6 separate regions of the Homo sapiens genome follow, and all the other regions are linked to region 4. The links are contacts of gene promoters, found by promoter capture Hi-C in human tissues and cell types (Jung and others, 2019). All regions are on one chromosome and are shown on one strand. Each heading gives the region's core, a stretch centred on a gene start or on the middle of the fragment in contact. The rest is flanking DNA. Distances are from core to core; before and after follow the strand shown.

Region 1 (2,700 bases), core at 125-2,624, 450 kb before region 4:
GCCAGGTTTCGGAGGACACCCCCGAGGAGGTGGTTCCCCCACAGCCCTGCAGGAGAGAATGGGGGTTCTTTTTAAATCTAGACAGGTGGGGTACCAGGAGCCAAACTGATGTGGCTTCCCAACTGGAGAAACAGGTTTAATGATGCCCCATCTCTTCAAGGACTTGAAACCCTCTTCTTTTTTTGAGACGGAGTCTCACTCTGTTGCCCAGGCTGGAGTGCAGTGGCGCGATCTTGGCTCACTGCAACCTCCACCTCCTGGGTTCAAGCGATTCTCCTGCCTCAGCCTCCTGAGTAGCTGGGATTACAGGCACTCACCACCACGCCCGGCTAATTTTTTATATTTTTAGTAGAGACGGGGTCTCACCATGCTGGCCAGGCTGGTCTTGAACTCCTGACCTCATGATCCACCCGCCTCTGCCTCCCAAAGTGTTGGGATTACAGGCGTGAGCCACCACGTCTGCCCCTGAAACCCTCTTCTAACAGGACATCTGCACCTGTGGTGGCTTGGCTCTCTTCTCAGAATAGTGTTTTCAGATGCACAGAATAAAATGCAAAGGGTTACGAAGGAGGCCAGTTAAATGGAACCAAGTCCTTCTGGACCACCCTGAGTGAGGCAGCCCTGCAGTGTAGACTTGGAGAAAGGCAGGTAGCTGGAGCCCGGGCAGGCTGGCCCCGGGTGAACATGCGACGGGGCAGCTGGTTAGAGGGTTGAGAGCCCGCTCTGCTGTCTGCCAGGCGCACACCCCAGGGCCAGTGAGGAGATGAGAGTGAGGATAACAGCAGCGACAGCAGACAGCTCCGTCATGCTCCCCCCCAACCCAGGTGCTGTTCTCAGTGTCCCGTGACTGTCCCTGGAAGGCGTTCCTTTCACTGCTATTCACAGGCTGGAGCCAGGTGCCAGACTCCCGGCCAGTGAGCTAGAGCCGCAGGGTCTGTGCTCCGGCCCCTGTCCAGAGCCTGTCCCAACCCCAGGCACCATCAGGGCTTGCGGCTATCATCGCCAGGCAGCCCTCCCTGGCTGGGCTCCTGCCACTGCCTCTGGCTGCCACGTGCCTCAGACGGCTGCGCCTTCTTTCTCCGGCCAGCTCTGCCTGCTTCATCACAGCTCTGCGCTCTGCTGCCCTGGCCCAGGTGCTGTGCGCTGGCCTGTGCACTGCAGCTGTGATCTGGACTAAACGGCGCCTTTCCCTGTGGGCACTGCGGCCCTGGGGAGCAGCCTGGCTCCATCCTGTCTGTGTCCCTTGTCAGGCACAGGCTCCATATGCACTGTAGGCCATCCCAGTGGACTGGAGTTTCTCTGGCCCTTAGAGAGGGTGATGGCCCTGAGAAGGCAACCTACGGTCGGGGTTGGGGGAGTGGAGGCGGGAGACGTGACTGAGGAACTGGCAGGACCTGGGGACCAGGAGGATGGGCCTGCTCAGAGGGGATGTGAATCTGCCTGCCAGGGGCCTGAGGGGTCCCTCCCTAGGTGAAGGGACACAGAGGGGACAGGTCTCATTGGAGTTGTAGTGGGTCTGAGCTGGGGAGATGGGAGGGCGGGCGGTGGGATGTAGCAGGTAGCCAGGCGGAGTGCGAGAGCAGCCTGGGCTGGGGTCTCAGGGTCTTGGTGCTGCCCTTGTCCTGCCCCGGGCACTGTGCTGAGAGCCCCTGGGACCAATGAATCTGGCAGCACAATGGACAGGAATCTGACTGCAGAGAGGCCACGTCCCTCAGCTCTGAGCCACCCCATTCAGCTGGTCCTGTGGCCAGGGCTCCCTGCAGTCAGGATGCAGGCTCGGGGACAATTGTGAGGCCTGGAGATGAAGACCTCCGGGAAGTGGAGGCAGGGGATGAGCTGCAGTGACTAGTGTGGCTCTCCAGGCATCTGCAGCCTTGCAGAGACGGGGACGTGGTGGAGGTGTCGTCCCATGTCATAGGGAAGGAGTCTGTGGCTCAGAGAGGTTAAGGGGCTTCCAAGGTGGTGAGGCTGGTAAGCTGCGAAGGTGCAGAGCTGCAGGCAGAATCTGCACCCTGGGCCCTGGTGCTGGGGCCTGAGCGGCTTGCAGGGGGTGCATAGGGGCCCCCAAAGAGAAGGAGGGTTAGCCTCAGCATTCACGGCAGGGTGGCCGCCCGTCTCCCAGGTGACCATGCTGCACGGCTGATAGGACACTTTCTCACGTACATCTCCTGCTTCCCCAGGACCAGTGCCTGGGACGCCCTTGGTCTCCTATCACAGATGGGAACTGGGGACTGCATGGTGTTAGGGGACTCCAAGCCTAGAGTTCCTGAAGCGGGCAGGGCTCAGGAGGGCACTCTGCTGGAGGGTCTACCCAGTTGAGCTTCGGGACTGCAGCCTTAGGAAGCAGCAGAGCTCCCCAGTTCTTTAACCTTGTTGGCTGTAGGGTCTGTATGTGGCCAGGGGAGAGTCCCAGCCCCTCGCATCCTCCAGGCTGCTGGGAGGGGCGGTGGGGAGCGAGCAGCTCTGTGCATGTTCATACGATTACGGAGGCCCTGCCACGTGCTGGCACCTGGCATCCTCCCACCCGGCCAGGGAGCCCCATCGCTCTCTCTGCCTCTCTGGGCAGGCGGAGGGCCATCTGCACGCTGTTTTAGCTTTTTATTGATTGATTTATTTTGAGGTAGAGTCTCGCTCTGTCACCCAGGCTGGAGTTCAGTGGCACTATCTCAGCTCACTGCAGCCTCTGCCTCCTGGGTTCAA
Region 2 (2,743 bases), core at 21-2,520, 320 kb before region 4:
GCTAACTGTCATTAATGCATGCATGACTACATTCATTCAAAAATATCTGAGTGTCTATACAGTGCCAAGTGTATGCCAAGCAGAGAAGGATTTACTGTGAAATTAATGAGGCTTAAGCTTTAGGGTCCCTCTCTTCAATCTTCCAAAGCTCTGAATCTTTCTTGGTGATTTTTATTTCTTGAAGAGGGCAGACAGAACTATATAAGCTGTAGGCCCCACAAAACCTAGATACCTCCTTGGTGTCACGAACACAAAAGGGAACAAGACAAACAGCTCTCCCCTTATGGAGTTTTCTGTTTAATGGGAAAGACAGCCATTTGTTCATTCACTCATTCAACAAACATTTACTAAGCAATGCTATGAGTCATGCATTCTGAGATGAAAACAACACTGTCCCTGCCCTTAAGGAAAAGGTTCCTGTTCCCAGGGAGATGAAGGGACACCTGCTCTGATCAGGGAACAGAAAGTAGTTGAGGTGACTGTAACACTGTGTTTGCGAAAGATTACCCTAAACCCGTCTCAAGAGGAACTGAGTCCTACTTATTGCAGAGACAAAGGGAAGAAAGAGTTCGGCTGAATACAGTTTTTAATCTCAACTAGGGGTGGGAGGCAGACAAGTAAATAGAACAGGCAAATATGGTGTGGTCAGTGCTGCAACAGGAAGCGAAGGACTGTCAGGAGGTTTCCCCTGAGTGCAAGTCTGTAGTGACGGCGAACTCATGACCTCACAAAGCCGCCCATGCACTTTCCAGATAGAGATTTCTGAGGATCTCCTTTCTTGTCCCCCAATCCCTGTCGCCGCAGGAGAAATCTGTTCCCCAATATGCGTCCCCCTTCCTCAAAATAAGGCTGTTCCTTCCCCCAAAAAGCTGTAGGGTCTCTGAGGCCAACTCTTCTGTCCCCCTTAGAGCCACCCCCTTCACACAATGCTTACGGGACGGGGTCTGGTTTGGGGCCCGGGGTCCCTGTCGCAGGACTGCCCCCTCCTCAACCCGCCGTTTCCATAGCAACCAGCTCACCACTTCGCGGGCCCGGCTGGAGAAGTCGCCCTTGGGCCGGGGGCTCCGGCGGAACAGCTCGTCCCGGCTGCCATCGACCCCGCCGCCCACCGCCACTCCCAGCGCCTTGTTCCGCGTCTTCACGGTCTTGACGCTGGCCCGGAATAGCAGCGTGATGTCCACCGCCATAGCGACCCGCACCCTCAGCCCCACACTAGGCCCGCCCACGTAAGCAGCCGGCGACCGCGGCGCGAACCCGGCCGCTGAAGGACTGGTCCTGCCCCACACGCCTCCCCCCGGCAACGGCGACGCGAGAAGAAAGGTTCCGGCCTGCGCCCTGCTACCGCGGCGGGAGGAAAAAGGTTCCGGCCTCAGCCGGCGCACCTGGCGGAGGAGGAACCTCGCGACGCGCTCTCGGGCATCGGTTTCTCCCAGCAAAGCTTGGAGGGTTTAGCTGCGCGGAGAGCTCAGCGAGCTCTTCTGTGTCTGTTTGGGGCGTGTGGGCTCCGGGAGCGTGAGGACCGGGAAGCTAGGAGGCTCCTTCCCTTCTGGCGGCTCCCTCACTGAGACCGGGCGGTTTGGTTGCGGGGGAAGTGGAGACGAGCCACCCTTGACCTTTGACTGCAAGAACTCACCTTGAGCAGGATAGAGGCACGTGGACGGTGACCCTCGGGATGCAATAAATGCTGAGACAGATCAGGTGTGCAAGGCACAGAGCTAGAGGCCAGAGGCCTTTCTTCTCCAACCTTCAGTCACCTCTTTTTAAAGTGAAGCCAGCATCCTCCTCGGGGTTTACTGTGAAAATTAAGTGAGCTGACGCGTGCTGTGTTTTGATGTTGCTTGGCTCCTAGTAAGTGGCCAATAAATGGTAGTAATCGTTAATAATGTTATTATTATAATCACTGTTATTTGTGGTAAAGGAAGAGGCTTTAGAGAAAAGGCGTCACCTGTGCAGAGATTTGAAGGATGAATAGGAAGTTTAGATGGAGACAAAGGTGAAAGAGTGGCCCTAATGCCGCTGGATTCTCTTCATCCTTCATGCATAGTTTTTAATTGTACCGTCTTGAGCCATAGCTATTAAAATTGACAACTCAATCAATGAGTTTCTTCTGCATTTTAGGTTCATGTTCTGTTTTGTGTTGTTTTTTGAGACGGGGGTCTACTATGTTGCCCAGGCTGGATTGCAGTGGCTAGTCAGAGGCGCCATCCTAGCTCACTACAGCTGGAACGCCAGGGCTCAAACGATCCTCCCGGACTCAGCCTCCTGAGTAGCTGGGACTATAGGCACGTGCAACCGTGCCTGGCCTATGGTTCAGTTTTAATTCAAAATCTCATTGATTTCTTCAAGATTTCTTTTTTCATAAAGAGGAAGCACAAGTAGAATATGTATTAAAACAGCAGTTTTAATGGTCATCAAGATAAAATTTTCACAATACTAAGATGTTATTTGCCTTTTCGCTCTGATTTTCTTATGAGTTGCATACAGTTGAGTTTGCTGGAGACTGTGATATTGCAACGGAGTAAATGCAGAACAGCTGTTTTCTATTAAGCCAGACTCCAAAAAAAGACTTTCAAAAACATCAAGTTTTTGTTTTGATTTCTCATATAGTAAATGTCGATAATGTCAATATAAACCAAAATTGTTTAGAGCCCTTAATAATTTTTAAGTGTGCAAAAGAGTTGAGACCAAAAGTTTGAGAACCACTGTGTTAAAAAAATAAAGTTTATCAGAAATAGATGTCAAG
Region 3 (2,761 bases), core at 260-2,759, 280 kb before region 4:
AAGTAATACAGAGAGATTTGTGTAACTCTTATCCAGTTTTCTCCAAAGGGAGCATCTTGCAAAACTGTACTACAATATCATAACAAAGATATTGACACTGATAAAATCCACCAGCCTTATTCAGATTTCCTCAGTTTTACTTGTCCTCATGTGAGTGTATTTAGTTCTTTGCAATTTTAACATGTATGTAGGTCCATGTATGTAGCGCCACAGTCAAGATACACAACAGCTCTGTCAGCACAGGCTTCTGCAGCCTTTAATAATCACATCTACTTCTCCATGTCACCCAGCATCCCTCATTCTTGTAACACTAAACCTGTTCTCTATCTCTATAATTTCATTATTTCGAGAATGTTCTGTAAGTGGAAGTATATGCTTCTGGGATTGGCTTTTTGACTCAGTCTAATTCTCTTGAGAGTCACTGAGTTATGGCATGCATCAGTAGTGTTTTGTTTTTTTTTTTAATTTTAACTGAGTGGTGTTCCATGGCATAGAAGTACCACAGTTTCTTTAACCATTTACCCACTGAAGAATATCTGTGTCCAGTTTCTGGCCATTATGAGAAATGCTGCTGTGAACATTCACGTACAGGTGTTTGTGCAAACAAAAGTTTTTACTTTTCTGGGAAAAATGTCCAAGGGTATAAAGTCCTTGCTTTTACTCCCAACGTTGTGTGGCCCTCTAGGTTGGTTGCAAAGATCTTTTTTAAAAAGAGCAATGTAAGTTGAGATCTTACTATATATTTGATACTATGGTAAGTACTTTGCATGGATCAACTCATAAGTCCACAAAACAACCTTAGGCTTAAGTACTGGTGATATCCCCATTTTGCAGATGAGGAAACTGAGGCGTAGAGAAGCTACATAGTCTAAGGACACACAGAGTGTAAACAGTTGAGCCAGGATTTGAGCTCAGGCTGCCTGACTCCAGATCTGGCTATTTAACCAGCCTATGAATGAAGTTTCTTGTTTTGGCGAGGGGCAAACTTCTTCTGAAAGTAGAACTTGTATCCAGCAATTTGCATAACTCAAGTGCCCAGCACTAAGAACTTTTACAAAATGATGAATATCCCCTTGGAACCACCACTCAGATCAAGATATGAAGCCTGATAGATGCCCTGAAGTCCCCCTCCTATGTGCCTCCTGTCATTATCCCCTAAGAAAGGGAACCGCTATTTGTACTGCAGTTGCTGTATATTAGTTTTGCTCATTTTTGGATTTTATATAAATGAAACCATAGAGTAAGCTGTCTTTTATATCTGGCTTCCTTCATTCAACAATGTGCGTGCAAGACTCCTCCCTGTAGCCGTGTATAGTAGTCATGTGCTCTTTCTTCTTGCTGCCCTGTATTCCATTGTATGGATATGCCACAGCTTGTTTATTTCTTCTCCAGTTGAATGGCATGTGGTTTGCTTCCGGTTTTGGCTATCATGATTTATGCTGCTATACACACATAAATATAAATATTTAGAGTTTTCCTAGTTATGTTATTATTGATTTCTAGCTTAATTTCACTATGATCAGAGAGTATAACTGTATGATGATAAACCTTTCAAACTCATTGAGATTGGCTGGGCATGGTGGCTCTCGCCTGTAATCCCAGCACTTTGAGAGGCCCAGGCAGGAGGATCACTTGAGCCCAGGAGTTTGAGACCAGTTTGAGCAACATAGTGAGACTCCATTTCTACAAAAAATTTAAAAAAAAATAGCTGGGCATGGTGATGCACATCTATGGTCCTGAGGTTGCGGGGATAGCTTGAGCCTCAGAGATTGAGGCTGCTGTGAGCCACGGTTGTGCCACTGCACTCTAGCCTGGGCAACAGAGTGAGACCCTGTCTCAAAAAAAAAAAAAAAAAGGGAATATGTAAACTGCAGCTGTTGGTTGCATTGCCTTTTTTTTTTTTTTTTTTTTTTTGAGACAGGGTCTCATTCTGTTGCCCAGACTAGAGTGCAACGACATGATCTCGGCTCACTGCAACCTCTGTCTCCTGGGTTCAAGTGATTCTCCTGCCTTAGCCTCCCCAGTAGCTGGGATTACAGGCACGTGCCGCCATACCTGGCTAATTTTTATATTATTAGTAGAGACAGTGTTTCACCATGTTGGCCAGGCTCGTCTCAAACTCCTGACCTCAGGTGATCCACCTGCCTCAGCCTCCCAAAGAGCTGGGATTATAGGTGTGAGCCACCGTGCTCGGCCAGCTCTATTTATTTTTATTGGCTCCAGTTCATTAATCATGTTAAAATCTTTTATATCTTTACTGAATTTCTCTCTGCTTTTTCTTTCAATAACTGAGAGATGTATTTTAAAATCTCCACTAGGATAATGGATTTGACTGTTTCTCCTTTTGTCCCACTTTCTTTGAGGCTATGTTTTTTGCTGCATGCAAATTTTAAATTATTATCTTATTAAATGACTTTTTGATATTATAAAATATCTCTAGTAACAAATCTTGCCTTACAGAATGTATTGTCTTTATATGTTATATAACTACATATGTATGTGTTATAATTATGTAGTGTTGTTATTAAGTATATGTTAATGTAGTTATGTATCAGCTTTTCCTGTCCTTTTAATTTCAGTTTTTCAGACTCCTTATCTTTAAGGTAAATGTTTCATATAATCACAATGTAATTGGGTTTTACTATTTTAGATATCTGATAATTTTTGGATTGCTAAAAAAATTTTGAAAATTATTCCATTTTCCCCACCCTGCTAACTTATTCGTTATGCATTCTGTATTATTCCTGTACCTGTTCCCGTA
Region 4 (2,700 bases), core at 139-2,638:
GATAATTACCCCTAAATGGCCACGGCAGCCCCTTGTGTTTCCTGGAGATTAGAACCCCGCAGTCATCAATGGCAGGGCCGAGTGAGCCGCCAATCACCTCCGCTCACTCCCTGAGAGCCGCTGGCCTGGGCCGCAGGAGGAGAGGCCATAAAGCGACAGGCGCAGAAAATGGCCAAGCCCCGACCCCGCTTCAGGCAGATCTTGCATCTCCCCTGACCCCAACTCATTTTTTCTGTCTTTATTATTATTATTATTATTAACAGCAAACATTAAATCACGTTTTCTCCGAAATTGGCAAAAGAAGAGTTCTCAAGTCCCACACTAGAGTCCACCTCCAGGAACTTTCCTCTTTTCCCAGCCCCCTCCCCCAAATGTGCCTCTCCCCTCCAGGATCAGCGGCCCAGAGATAGGGACATGTCATTGTTTCCGAGGACGCGTTGTTTGAGGTCACCTTAAGGCCAGATCGGTGTTTCATTGACGATTCTGTTGGTTTTATTTCAGTAAGTTCTATATCAAAAGGATCTGGCAGCTCCTTTCCCCGCCCGGGCGCTATAGGTGTTGTGACCCTTGGGACAGAAGTTCAGAGCGAGGGTGGGGGGGGGGGAATACACATCGTGTATGAAAACCGACTGCAGATTCTAGATAATCTTACGTATTCTCACATCCTTGGCACTACAGGAAGCTAGCTTCTTCCCGCAAGGTTTACTCCAGCTCTAAGTTAGAGACAAAGGCCCACTTTTACCTCGAGGTAAAGTTTACAAGATTTCAGAACAGGAAGAAAATGAAGGTTTGGTTTTGTTTCGTTTCTTGAAAAGAAGTTAATAGTATGTCTTTCTCCTAGGATAAATAGCCATGCGTATTTTAAAAACTATATATAAAAGGAATGTGTAAGAAATAACCTCAACTCAAATTATTGTGGTAGAAGAAGAGGGGGGGTCAGACAGTGGAGGGGGGCACAGGGAAACCCAGCCACAGACTAAAGAGAAAGGTAAAAGAAGCAGTAGAGGAGAGAAACAAGGACGGGGAAAAAAAGAGGAGCGGAAAAGAGGGCTGAGGAGGGGAGGGGAGGGGAGGAGAGGAGGGCAGAAGAGAAGGAACGAGAACAAGGGAAAATCCCCCGGGAACACAGAAAGATAGAGACCCAGGGGACTCCCGCAGAGAGGGCCTCTTGGGCTTCAGCGCAGAGGAAAGTTTCCCGGGCACCCCCTCTCCTCCCCTGCCCTCCGCCGCCTGGGCCCTGCCCTGCGTGCCCCCAGGCCCAGCGCGCCTCCGGGCGAGTCCCCAGGAGCGCGGCCCAATGGATCGCTCCGGGCCCGCCCCCTCGCGCGCTGATTGGCCGCCGCCCCGCTGGCCTCGCCTTATTAGCAAGTTCTCTGGGGAGCCGCGGTAGGGCCCGGAGCCGGCGAGTGCTCCCGGGAACTCTGCCTGCGCGGCGGCAGCGACCGGAGGCCAGGCCCAGCACGCCGGAGCTGGCCTGCTGGGGAGGGGCGGGAGGCGCGCGCGGGAGGGTCCGCCCGGCCAGGGCCCCGGGCGCTCGCAGAGGCCGGCCGCGCTCCCAGCCCGCCCGGAGCCCATGCCCGGCGGCTGGCCAGTGCTGCGGCAGAAGGGGGGGCCCGGCTCTGCATGGCCCCGGCTGCTGACATGACTTCTTTGCCACTCGGTGTCAAAGTGGAGGACTCCGCCTTCGGCAAGCCGGCGGGGGGAGGCGCGGGCCAGGCCCCCAGCGCCGCCGCGGCCACGGCAGCCGCCATGGGCGCGGACGAGGAGGGGGCCAAGCCCAAAGTGTCCCCTTCGCTCCTGCCCTTCAGCGTGGAGGCGCTCATGGCCGACCACAGGAAGCCGGGGGCCAAGGAGAGCGCCCTGGCGCCCTCCGAGGGCGTGCAGGCGGCGGGTGGCTCGGCGCAGCCACTGGGCGTCCCGCCGGGGTCGCTGGGAGCCCCGGACGCGCCCTCTTCGCCGCGGCCGCTCGGCCATTTCTCGGTGGGGGGACTCCTCAAGCTGCCAGAAGATGCGCTCGTCAAAGCCGAGAGCCCCGAGAAGCCCGAGAGGACCCCGTGGATGCAGAGCCCCCGCTTCTCCCCGCCGCCGGCCAGTGAGTAGCCAGAACCCAGGCGCAGAGGGAGGGGGCCGGGTGGGGGCCGGGTGGGGTGTGGGACCCGAGGGCTCCTGGTGGCCTCCGGCGCCTGCGTACCTGCAGCCGGTGCTAGGGAGCCGTGGGCTGCAAGGCCGGGTCTTGCGCCTCCCTCCACTCCCACCCAGGAAGAAGGTTCCAGACCTCCTCGCCTTGGCCCAGAGACGCTGCGGGTGGGAGTTAACGGATAGGACACCGATGTCTGGGCACCCTGTCCTCCTGCCCCCACCAAACGACCTCAGGGGTCCATGATCCCTCATCTGATCCCAAACTCTGTTTCATCGGCTTCACCCCAGCGGATGAATGTGTGTGGTGCGGTATCTTCCCTGCACCCGGAGTTTCACTTTCTCGCAGTAGGAGCTGGTGTCCCCCAGCCCCTCTTCCCTTTCAAGTACCTCTTTGCCTAGAGGTTCCGAAGCTCCTACAGAATTCTACCTCCCCATGCCCTTTGAGTTTGAGGCAGATAGTTGGTGCTTTGGGCGGATGGATGATTCAGGGGTGGGGACATTCAGGTTCCAGTGGAGGGGGCGGGGCACCAAGTCAATTAGGGGAAGGCGCCCCCGCTAATC
Region 5 (2,700 bases), core at 201-2,700, 400 kb before region 4:
GTGGGACTGTGGGATCTAGGGTGAGTGGCCAAGCCTCCTGAGCCTCAACTTCCTCATTTGTAAAATGAGGGAGGAAACAGTACCTGCCTCATGGGGGTTTGTTGTGGGCCAATAAAGTGGCTGGCATGCTGCCTGGCACACAGTGAGTGCCCGGTAGCGCCAGCTATGGCATTTTGCGAAGAAGTTCAAACACGGTACATTGCATAGGGTAAGTGCTCTACAAACTTTAACTGCTATTATTAGTAGTACTATTATTAATTAAGAAACACCAATGAAAGCAATACTTACAATCTTTTCTTATCCACCACTCTTTTAACTCGGATGGCTCTCTGTTCTGAGTAAAGTTTACATACTCCTGTTGCAGAAGAAAATACCAGAAGAGAGACTGCTTAAAACAGCTTCTCAGGCAAAGCCATCATTAAATATAATGAGATACTACAGTCTTCAGCTAGCAAAGCTAAATTCTGCATCACATCTATTGTGAAATGTTACATTTGACCTTTAAAAGAAAATGAAATACTTTTCAAGTAATCTTCAATGAAATCCAAAACAGCGGTCCTGTGCTCCTTCACTTGCTGGGAATGTATCTCCTTGTGAGCTGTAACAGAAAAAGACAATGTTCAGGCCTTCGCACTCAATTATCCTAAAGAGCAATTCATCAGCTTCCTCACAACACTTTCTTTATTGAGAGTATTTTTTAAAACACAGCTATAAAACAAGTCTTGTGCCAAGTGACACTACATTTTTAAAACAGTAAGATGTATCAGGCTTCGCAAGAGTGAAAGATTAAACCTGTAGAAAATCTATAGTCAAATAATTTATGGTTTATCAGAACACTTAAGGATAGTATTTGACGCAGCCACTTCTTGAGTGCTGACCCCATCTGTGTTAACAGCATCCAATGCTCAAGCTGACCTTCAGCGAACATGTTTAAACAACTGAAATCACACACTCCTCCCTGCTTGAACCTGTGCTGCTTTTCAGCCTGTAGTGCCCCATCCTCTCCCCTTGGCCACTCACATTCTAAGGGTCCCTTAGACAATGAGTCAAACTTTCTGTCTCCAGGAAACCTATGACTCCTAGCCACAAAGATGCCTTTCTCCTGGGAACTACCACACAGAAGTGTGCTAAAAGGCCTTACCAGACCTAAAGTCTGTGCCACTGGTTTTGGTAAGATAGTGACCACTGACTGAGAGACTGAGTGCCTACTGCGTGCAGGTACTCTGCTAGCACTTTACATATGTACTGCTAGTAATTACAATAGCAATTCCGAGTTTCCTGATTTTTACACGTGAAGAAACTAAGGTTCAGAGGCAATAAATAGCCCAAGGTTAGATGGTTTCATATGTAAATGTAGGTTTTGTTAAATATTCCTGTGCATTTTTTAGGTCTCTCAATGAATGTATATGCCCTTAAGGGTAGAGGGCATGATTTCTGCCTTACTATAGGGCTGCTTAACCCAAGATTTGTGTGGGGGACTCAGGAGCTCTGTGAAATTGCATATAGAATTTTGTGTATGTACATTTTTCTGGCAAGAATGCCTATTGCTTCCATCAGAGTCTCCAAGTGGTCCGTCAGCATTCTAATAAAAACCTCCCCAACAAAAGTCTGTGTTGTGAGCACAACAGCATCTGGCAGCTTTGAACTCTACTTACTATTTAATGTACTCTGTAAATGCCTAAGCAAATTAAAAAAGAATCAAGAAAGAGGCGTGACTTGGGAAGCCATCTCATTGTCTCAGTGAGAATTAAACATCAACGAAAGTGAGATAATAAGCGCTCTTGTGCCAGACACAGTTCTAAGCATGCTGTAGGAATTTAACTTAATGCTCATAACAACCCTAGAGATACATTCCCTAATTGTCTGCATTTCATAGACAAAAAAACAAGGCCCAGGGAGATTAAGTGATTTGCAGAGGGCTATATGGCTCGGACGGGTGGAGTTGGGGTGCAACCTAAGCAGCCCTGGCTCCAGAGCCTTCCTCCTAACCTTGAAGGTTTGATAGGAAAGTTTACTTGAATATTACAAGTAGAGCTTAAGTACCCCAGGCTGCTGTCAACTCCCATCCCACTAAATGCCACACAGAACAGAGGCACACATGTGCATACACACATACACACCCACACACATACAATTTGCCACACAGAACACACACACACGCACACACACACACACACACACACACACAAATTTGTCTTCACTGCCCCTGGCCCCTAGATATATTTTTGGTTCTGTTTGGAGAGGTCCTTTCCATCTCCCTCCTCTCATTGGTTTAACTTGAATGATACAGCCTTTGCAGTACTTTTAACAGCTTTGGTTAAAACATTGATCAAGAAAGAAAAGATTTTAACGTTTTAAAACCTAAATCGAAATAAGAAGAGGGAATTTTAACTGGCCGCACCATATGCATCTTGTTTAACTACTTGCTATATTCATGGTTGCTTGTTTGCATCTTTCAGAGCACTTTACCTTCTGTTCGTAGTTGCTGAATTGCTTCTGAACAGGTCCTCATGAATATCTGGGCATCCTGGTCTATCTGGTCTCGTTCTGTGTCTGTCATCCTCCCATATTCAGACATGGTATGGCTAAAAAAAGACAGCAAAGGAAAGGGCAGCAGCAAATGAGAACATAATATAGTCTGAGTGGGATGGGAAGAGAAGAAAAGGCCTCCCTGATCAGGTGACATTTAAGCTGAGACTT
Region 6 (2,700 bases), core at 94-2,593, 330 kb after region 4:
CTATTGCCTAAACAACCGAGAGAATGAATGAACATTCTCAGGATGAGAACAGATGTCAGAAGTTAGTTTAAATGGCTCTCAGGGCAATGTAGGTTTCTAGAATCATTTTTGAGTTGCAATGGACTGAGTCAGTACACGGATATCTACCTGCCAGTCTAAGCCAAGAAACAATCACTTAAATCAGAGGCTACATTTTAAGTGTTGAGAGCTTTGATTAAAATAAAACTATATTAAGTATTTGAAGGCAGAGCCGATCTGGCTGAAGTAGTGGAGGGCAGGGAAAGGGACGTGGGGGAGGACAGAGACTGGAAGGCATCAGGGAAACCTTTGACAAAGCTTCTCAGCCTTATAAACAATTGCTAGATGCTGAGCAGTGTCATTTCCACAGAAGCAATTGTCCCTAGCCTGAACTGTTGCTATAGGCTCCTAACTACTGTTTCAATGCCCAGCCAGTTACCCATCACCCACGTGCCCTTCACAGGACAGGTCTTATCAAAGCGTAAGTCTGTGCCTACCACGCCTCTGCATAAAATACCACAATGGCTCCCGAAGCCCTCAGAATGAACGTCTTTCTGTGATCTAGCCTGTAACACTATGTACAGTCTCATCCCCTGACACCCACCCCTACTACCATCTTGGGCCATTTTTGTTCTCGTCCATACTAACTGGTTTGTGGGTGATCTGTCATACATCCTACTGTTCTCATCTCTCCAGGCCTCTGCTCAGGCTGTGCCCTCTGCCTGGAACACCGTCTGTTCTTCGGTCACTGCGAGAACTCCTGCTCATCCTCCACAGGAATTCATTCATTAAGTCGCTATTCACTGGGCTCTTATTGGGTACCAGGCACTGTTCCAATTTCTAAGGGTGCAGTGGTGAAGACAGTCAGTATGGCTCCTGTCCTCTTGGAGTTCATAGTCCAGGCCTCACCTCCTCCATCAGCCCTCCTCGGGACACCAGCCCCAGACAGTGGTGCTTTCTCGCAGATCCTGTTATGGCATAAAGGCAGCTCTGTCACGGTTATCTGCTGGGGTGTGTGTTTCCTCCGTGAGCAGTGGGCCGCTTGAGGAAGGGGACCATACCTTATTCATCTCTGTCTCCCTAGCATCTGACGTTCAGTAGATTAATTTATGTAGTGCTGTTAAGGGCCCCTGACATGCCAAATGCTGTGCTAGACCCTGGTGGCAGAACTGTGAGGAAGACAGTTCCTCCCTGTCTTACAGGTGAGAGAAGACAGATGCTAACCAGCAGTCGCTTATCTCGCTTGCTCTCTTCCCTCCATCTGGGATGGTTATCGTGCTTTGGTGTCCTGGGTTAACTTAAAAACTATAGAGATTTCAAACACCCACCATGCCCTGGAGGGTTAAGTGATATCCTGGTCCATCCCCAACACACAGAGATGGAGAATGTCCCTGGGGTTTTCCCAGTTCCAATTAGCGATGTCTTCATCAGTCTCCAGCGCCTCCTCGACATACCCATCCCCATGGTAACACCCATAAATAGAGGGTTAAGAGGCGAGGCTCTCCTATCTAGAGTCCCTCTCTCATTCTTGACTGTTCCAGCATTTGTAGCACCATGGAAACTTCATCTTATGCTTTAAAGATACCAGGTGTGTAATGTTTTCTTTGTAAGTGACATGAGTTTGTTATTCTTCAGGGGGCAGGATTGGCAGCTGTGAGTGTGGGTCACAGGATGCACCTGCCCGCACTCCGACACTCAGGGGGCCTGTGCTGAGCTGTTCAGAGGGCTGCATGAGGAGCCAGAGGACACGCAGTACAAAAACAGGAATTGGGGAAAACACAGCTGGGCTTGGGGGATTGGCTGTGGTGTGTCAGGCAGTTCCTGCAGGTGAGTGAGGGAATCCGTCCAGTAGTCAGAGAAGCCATGGGGTTTACCCAGGGTCACGTGGAAGAGCCAGGATTCTTCCAGACCTGTGGGCTGTGTGTGGGGTACTCCGCTTCTCCCGCACCACAACACAGCACCTTCTTGTGCCCGTTTTCCTGACTGCTCTTCATGCTTTCCCAAGGGTCTTCTGAACCAGGACTCTCTTGGTCCATGGGGAATTAGTAAATTTATCCCACACCTATTCAGTAATAGTAGTACCAGTACCATTTGTCCATCACCTACAGCACATGGCTCTTTGCATATTTTATCTGGATTAATCCTCAGAACCATCGTGCAAGGTGGATGTTACTGTCTCGTTTACAGCTGGAAAAGCTGAAGACTAGTGGATTAAGTTATTTGTGCAAAATATATAGCCAACAAGAGTCAGTACTGGGATTAAAAGCAATGGTGTGCTGGTAAATGCTTAACAACCAGCTCTCCAGGATGGGGTGTGTCGGGGCAGGGTGGCAGGGGCCGGGCGGGGGAGGGGGGGGACAAGCCCTGTTTGCCAATTTCCATGGTGTAAATAGTTTCTCATAATGGTTGATTTCAAACTAACAATATGGTGTCAGCCAGCCTGCAACATTTCTGAAGATTTAGCATTTGATTATGATGAGCTAGTATAAGCCGGCTCCCGCACAACTCTGCCAGACTCAGATCTAACACCAAAGCCTATGCTCTTTCTAAAGCCAACTTCTGTGAGTTAGGCCCAAAGCTAAGCCTCAAAAATAACAAGATGAGTAAGTGATGGATGCTACTCTGAGGGAGAGGAAGGAAGCGTGGTTATTATACTCAACAATGTAGTAGACGTGGAAAATG

Evidence for each region. The method cuts DNA at HindIII sites, captures the fragments that hold promoters and counts their contacts. A contact is called where the count stands out against the background at its distance.
Region 1: a fragment that was not itself captured here is called in contact with the fragment with the promoter of MSX1 in region 4 in 2 of the 25 tissues and cell types used here (lymphoblastoid cells and spleen).
Region 2: a contact is called between the fragment with the promoter of STX18 here and the fragment with the promoter of MSX1 in region 4, in 1 of the 25 tissues and cell types used here (mesendoderm cells).
Region 3: a fragment that was not itself captured here is called in contact with the fragment with the promoter of MSX1 in region 4 in 2 of the 25 tissues and cell types used here (dorsolateral prefrontal cortex and mesendoderm cells).
Region 5: a contact is called between a fragment that was not itself captured here and the fragment with the promoter of MSX1 in region 4, in 1 of the 25 tissues and cell types used here (mesendoderm cells).
Region 6: a contact is called between a fragment that was not itself captured here and the fragment with the promoter of MSX1 in region 4, in 2 of the 25 tissues and cell types used here (dorsolateral prefrontal cortex and spleen).

The regions. Positions count from the first base shown.
Region 1 is chr4:4,405,862-4,408,561 of GRCh38, forward strand. All of the region lies in intron 3 of NSG1 (neuronal vesicle trafficking associated 1), which reads left to right. Among named protein-coding and RNA genes, the nearest start is that of NSG1, 20 kb to the left of the region's middle. RefSeq lists a silencer at 93-223. The HindIII fragment of the contact is 6,386 bases long and covers 1-2,700 here.
Region 2 is chr4:4,540,778-4,543,520 of GRCh38, forward strand. STX18 (syntaxin 18) reads right to left here and starts at 1,271. Exons shown (of 11, transcript NM_016930.4): 1 at 1,020-1,271. The coding sequence starts at 1,187. It overlaps LOC124900165, which reads left to right and starts at 1,354. Exons shown (of 6, transcript XM_047416490.1): 1 at 1,354-1,698. It overlaps STX18-AS1 (STX18 antisense RNA 1 (head to head)), which reads left to right and starts at 1,354. Exons shown (of 6, transcript NR_037888.1): 1 at 1,354-1,698. RefSeq lists enhancers at 1,141-1,420, 1,145-1,439. The HindIII fragment of the contact is 5,470 bases long and covers 778-2,743 here.
Region 3 is chr4:4,579,826-4,582,586 of GRCh38, forward strand. All of the region lies in intron 2 of LOC124900165, which reads left to right. The region is part of intron 2 of STX18-AS1 (STX18 antisense RNA 1 (head to head)); the gene reads left to right. Among named protein-coding and RNA genes, the nearest start is that of LINC03091, 5.3 kb to the left of the region's middle. RefSeq lists an enhancer at 2,522-2,761. The HindIII fragment of the contact is 7,283 bases long and covers 1-2,761 here.
Region 4 is chr4:4,858,277-4,860,976 of GRCh38, forward strand. MSX1 (msh homeobox 1) reads left to right here and starts at 1,389. Exons shown (of 2, transcript NM_002448.3): 1 at 1,389-2,092. The coding sequence starts at 1,624. RefSeq lists silencers at 1,211-1,270, 1,291-1,530, 1,541-1,980. The HindIII fragment of the contact is 22,824 bases long and covers 1-2,700 here.
Region 5 is chr4:4,456,903-4,459,602 of GRCh38, forward strand. STX18 (syntaxin 18) reads right to left here. Exons shown (of 11, transcript NM_016930.4): 3 at 2,470-2,585; 4 at 521-598; 5 at 289-355. Among named protein-coding and RNA genes, the nearest start is that of STX18-IT1, 23 kb to the right of the region's middle. The HindIII fragment of the contact is 8,382 bases long and covers 1-2,700 here.
Region 6 is chr4:5,185,258-5,187,957 of GRCh38, forward strand. The region is part of intron 3 of STK32B (serine/threonine kinase 32B); the gene reads left to right. Among named protein-coding and RNA genes, the nearest start is that of STK32B, 140 kb to the left of the region's middle. The HindIII fragment of the contact is 5,864 bases long and covers 1-2,700 here.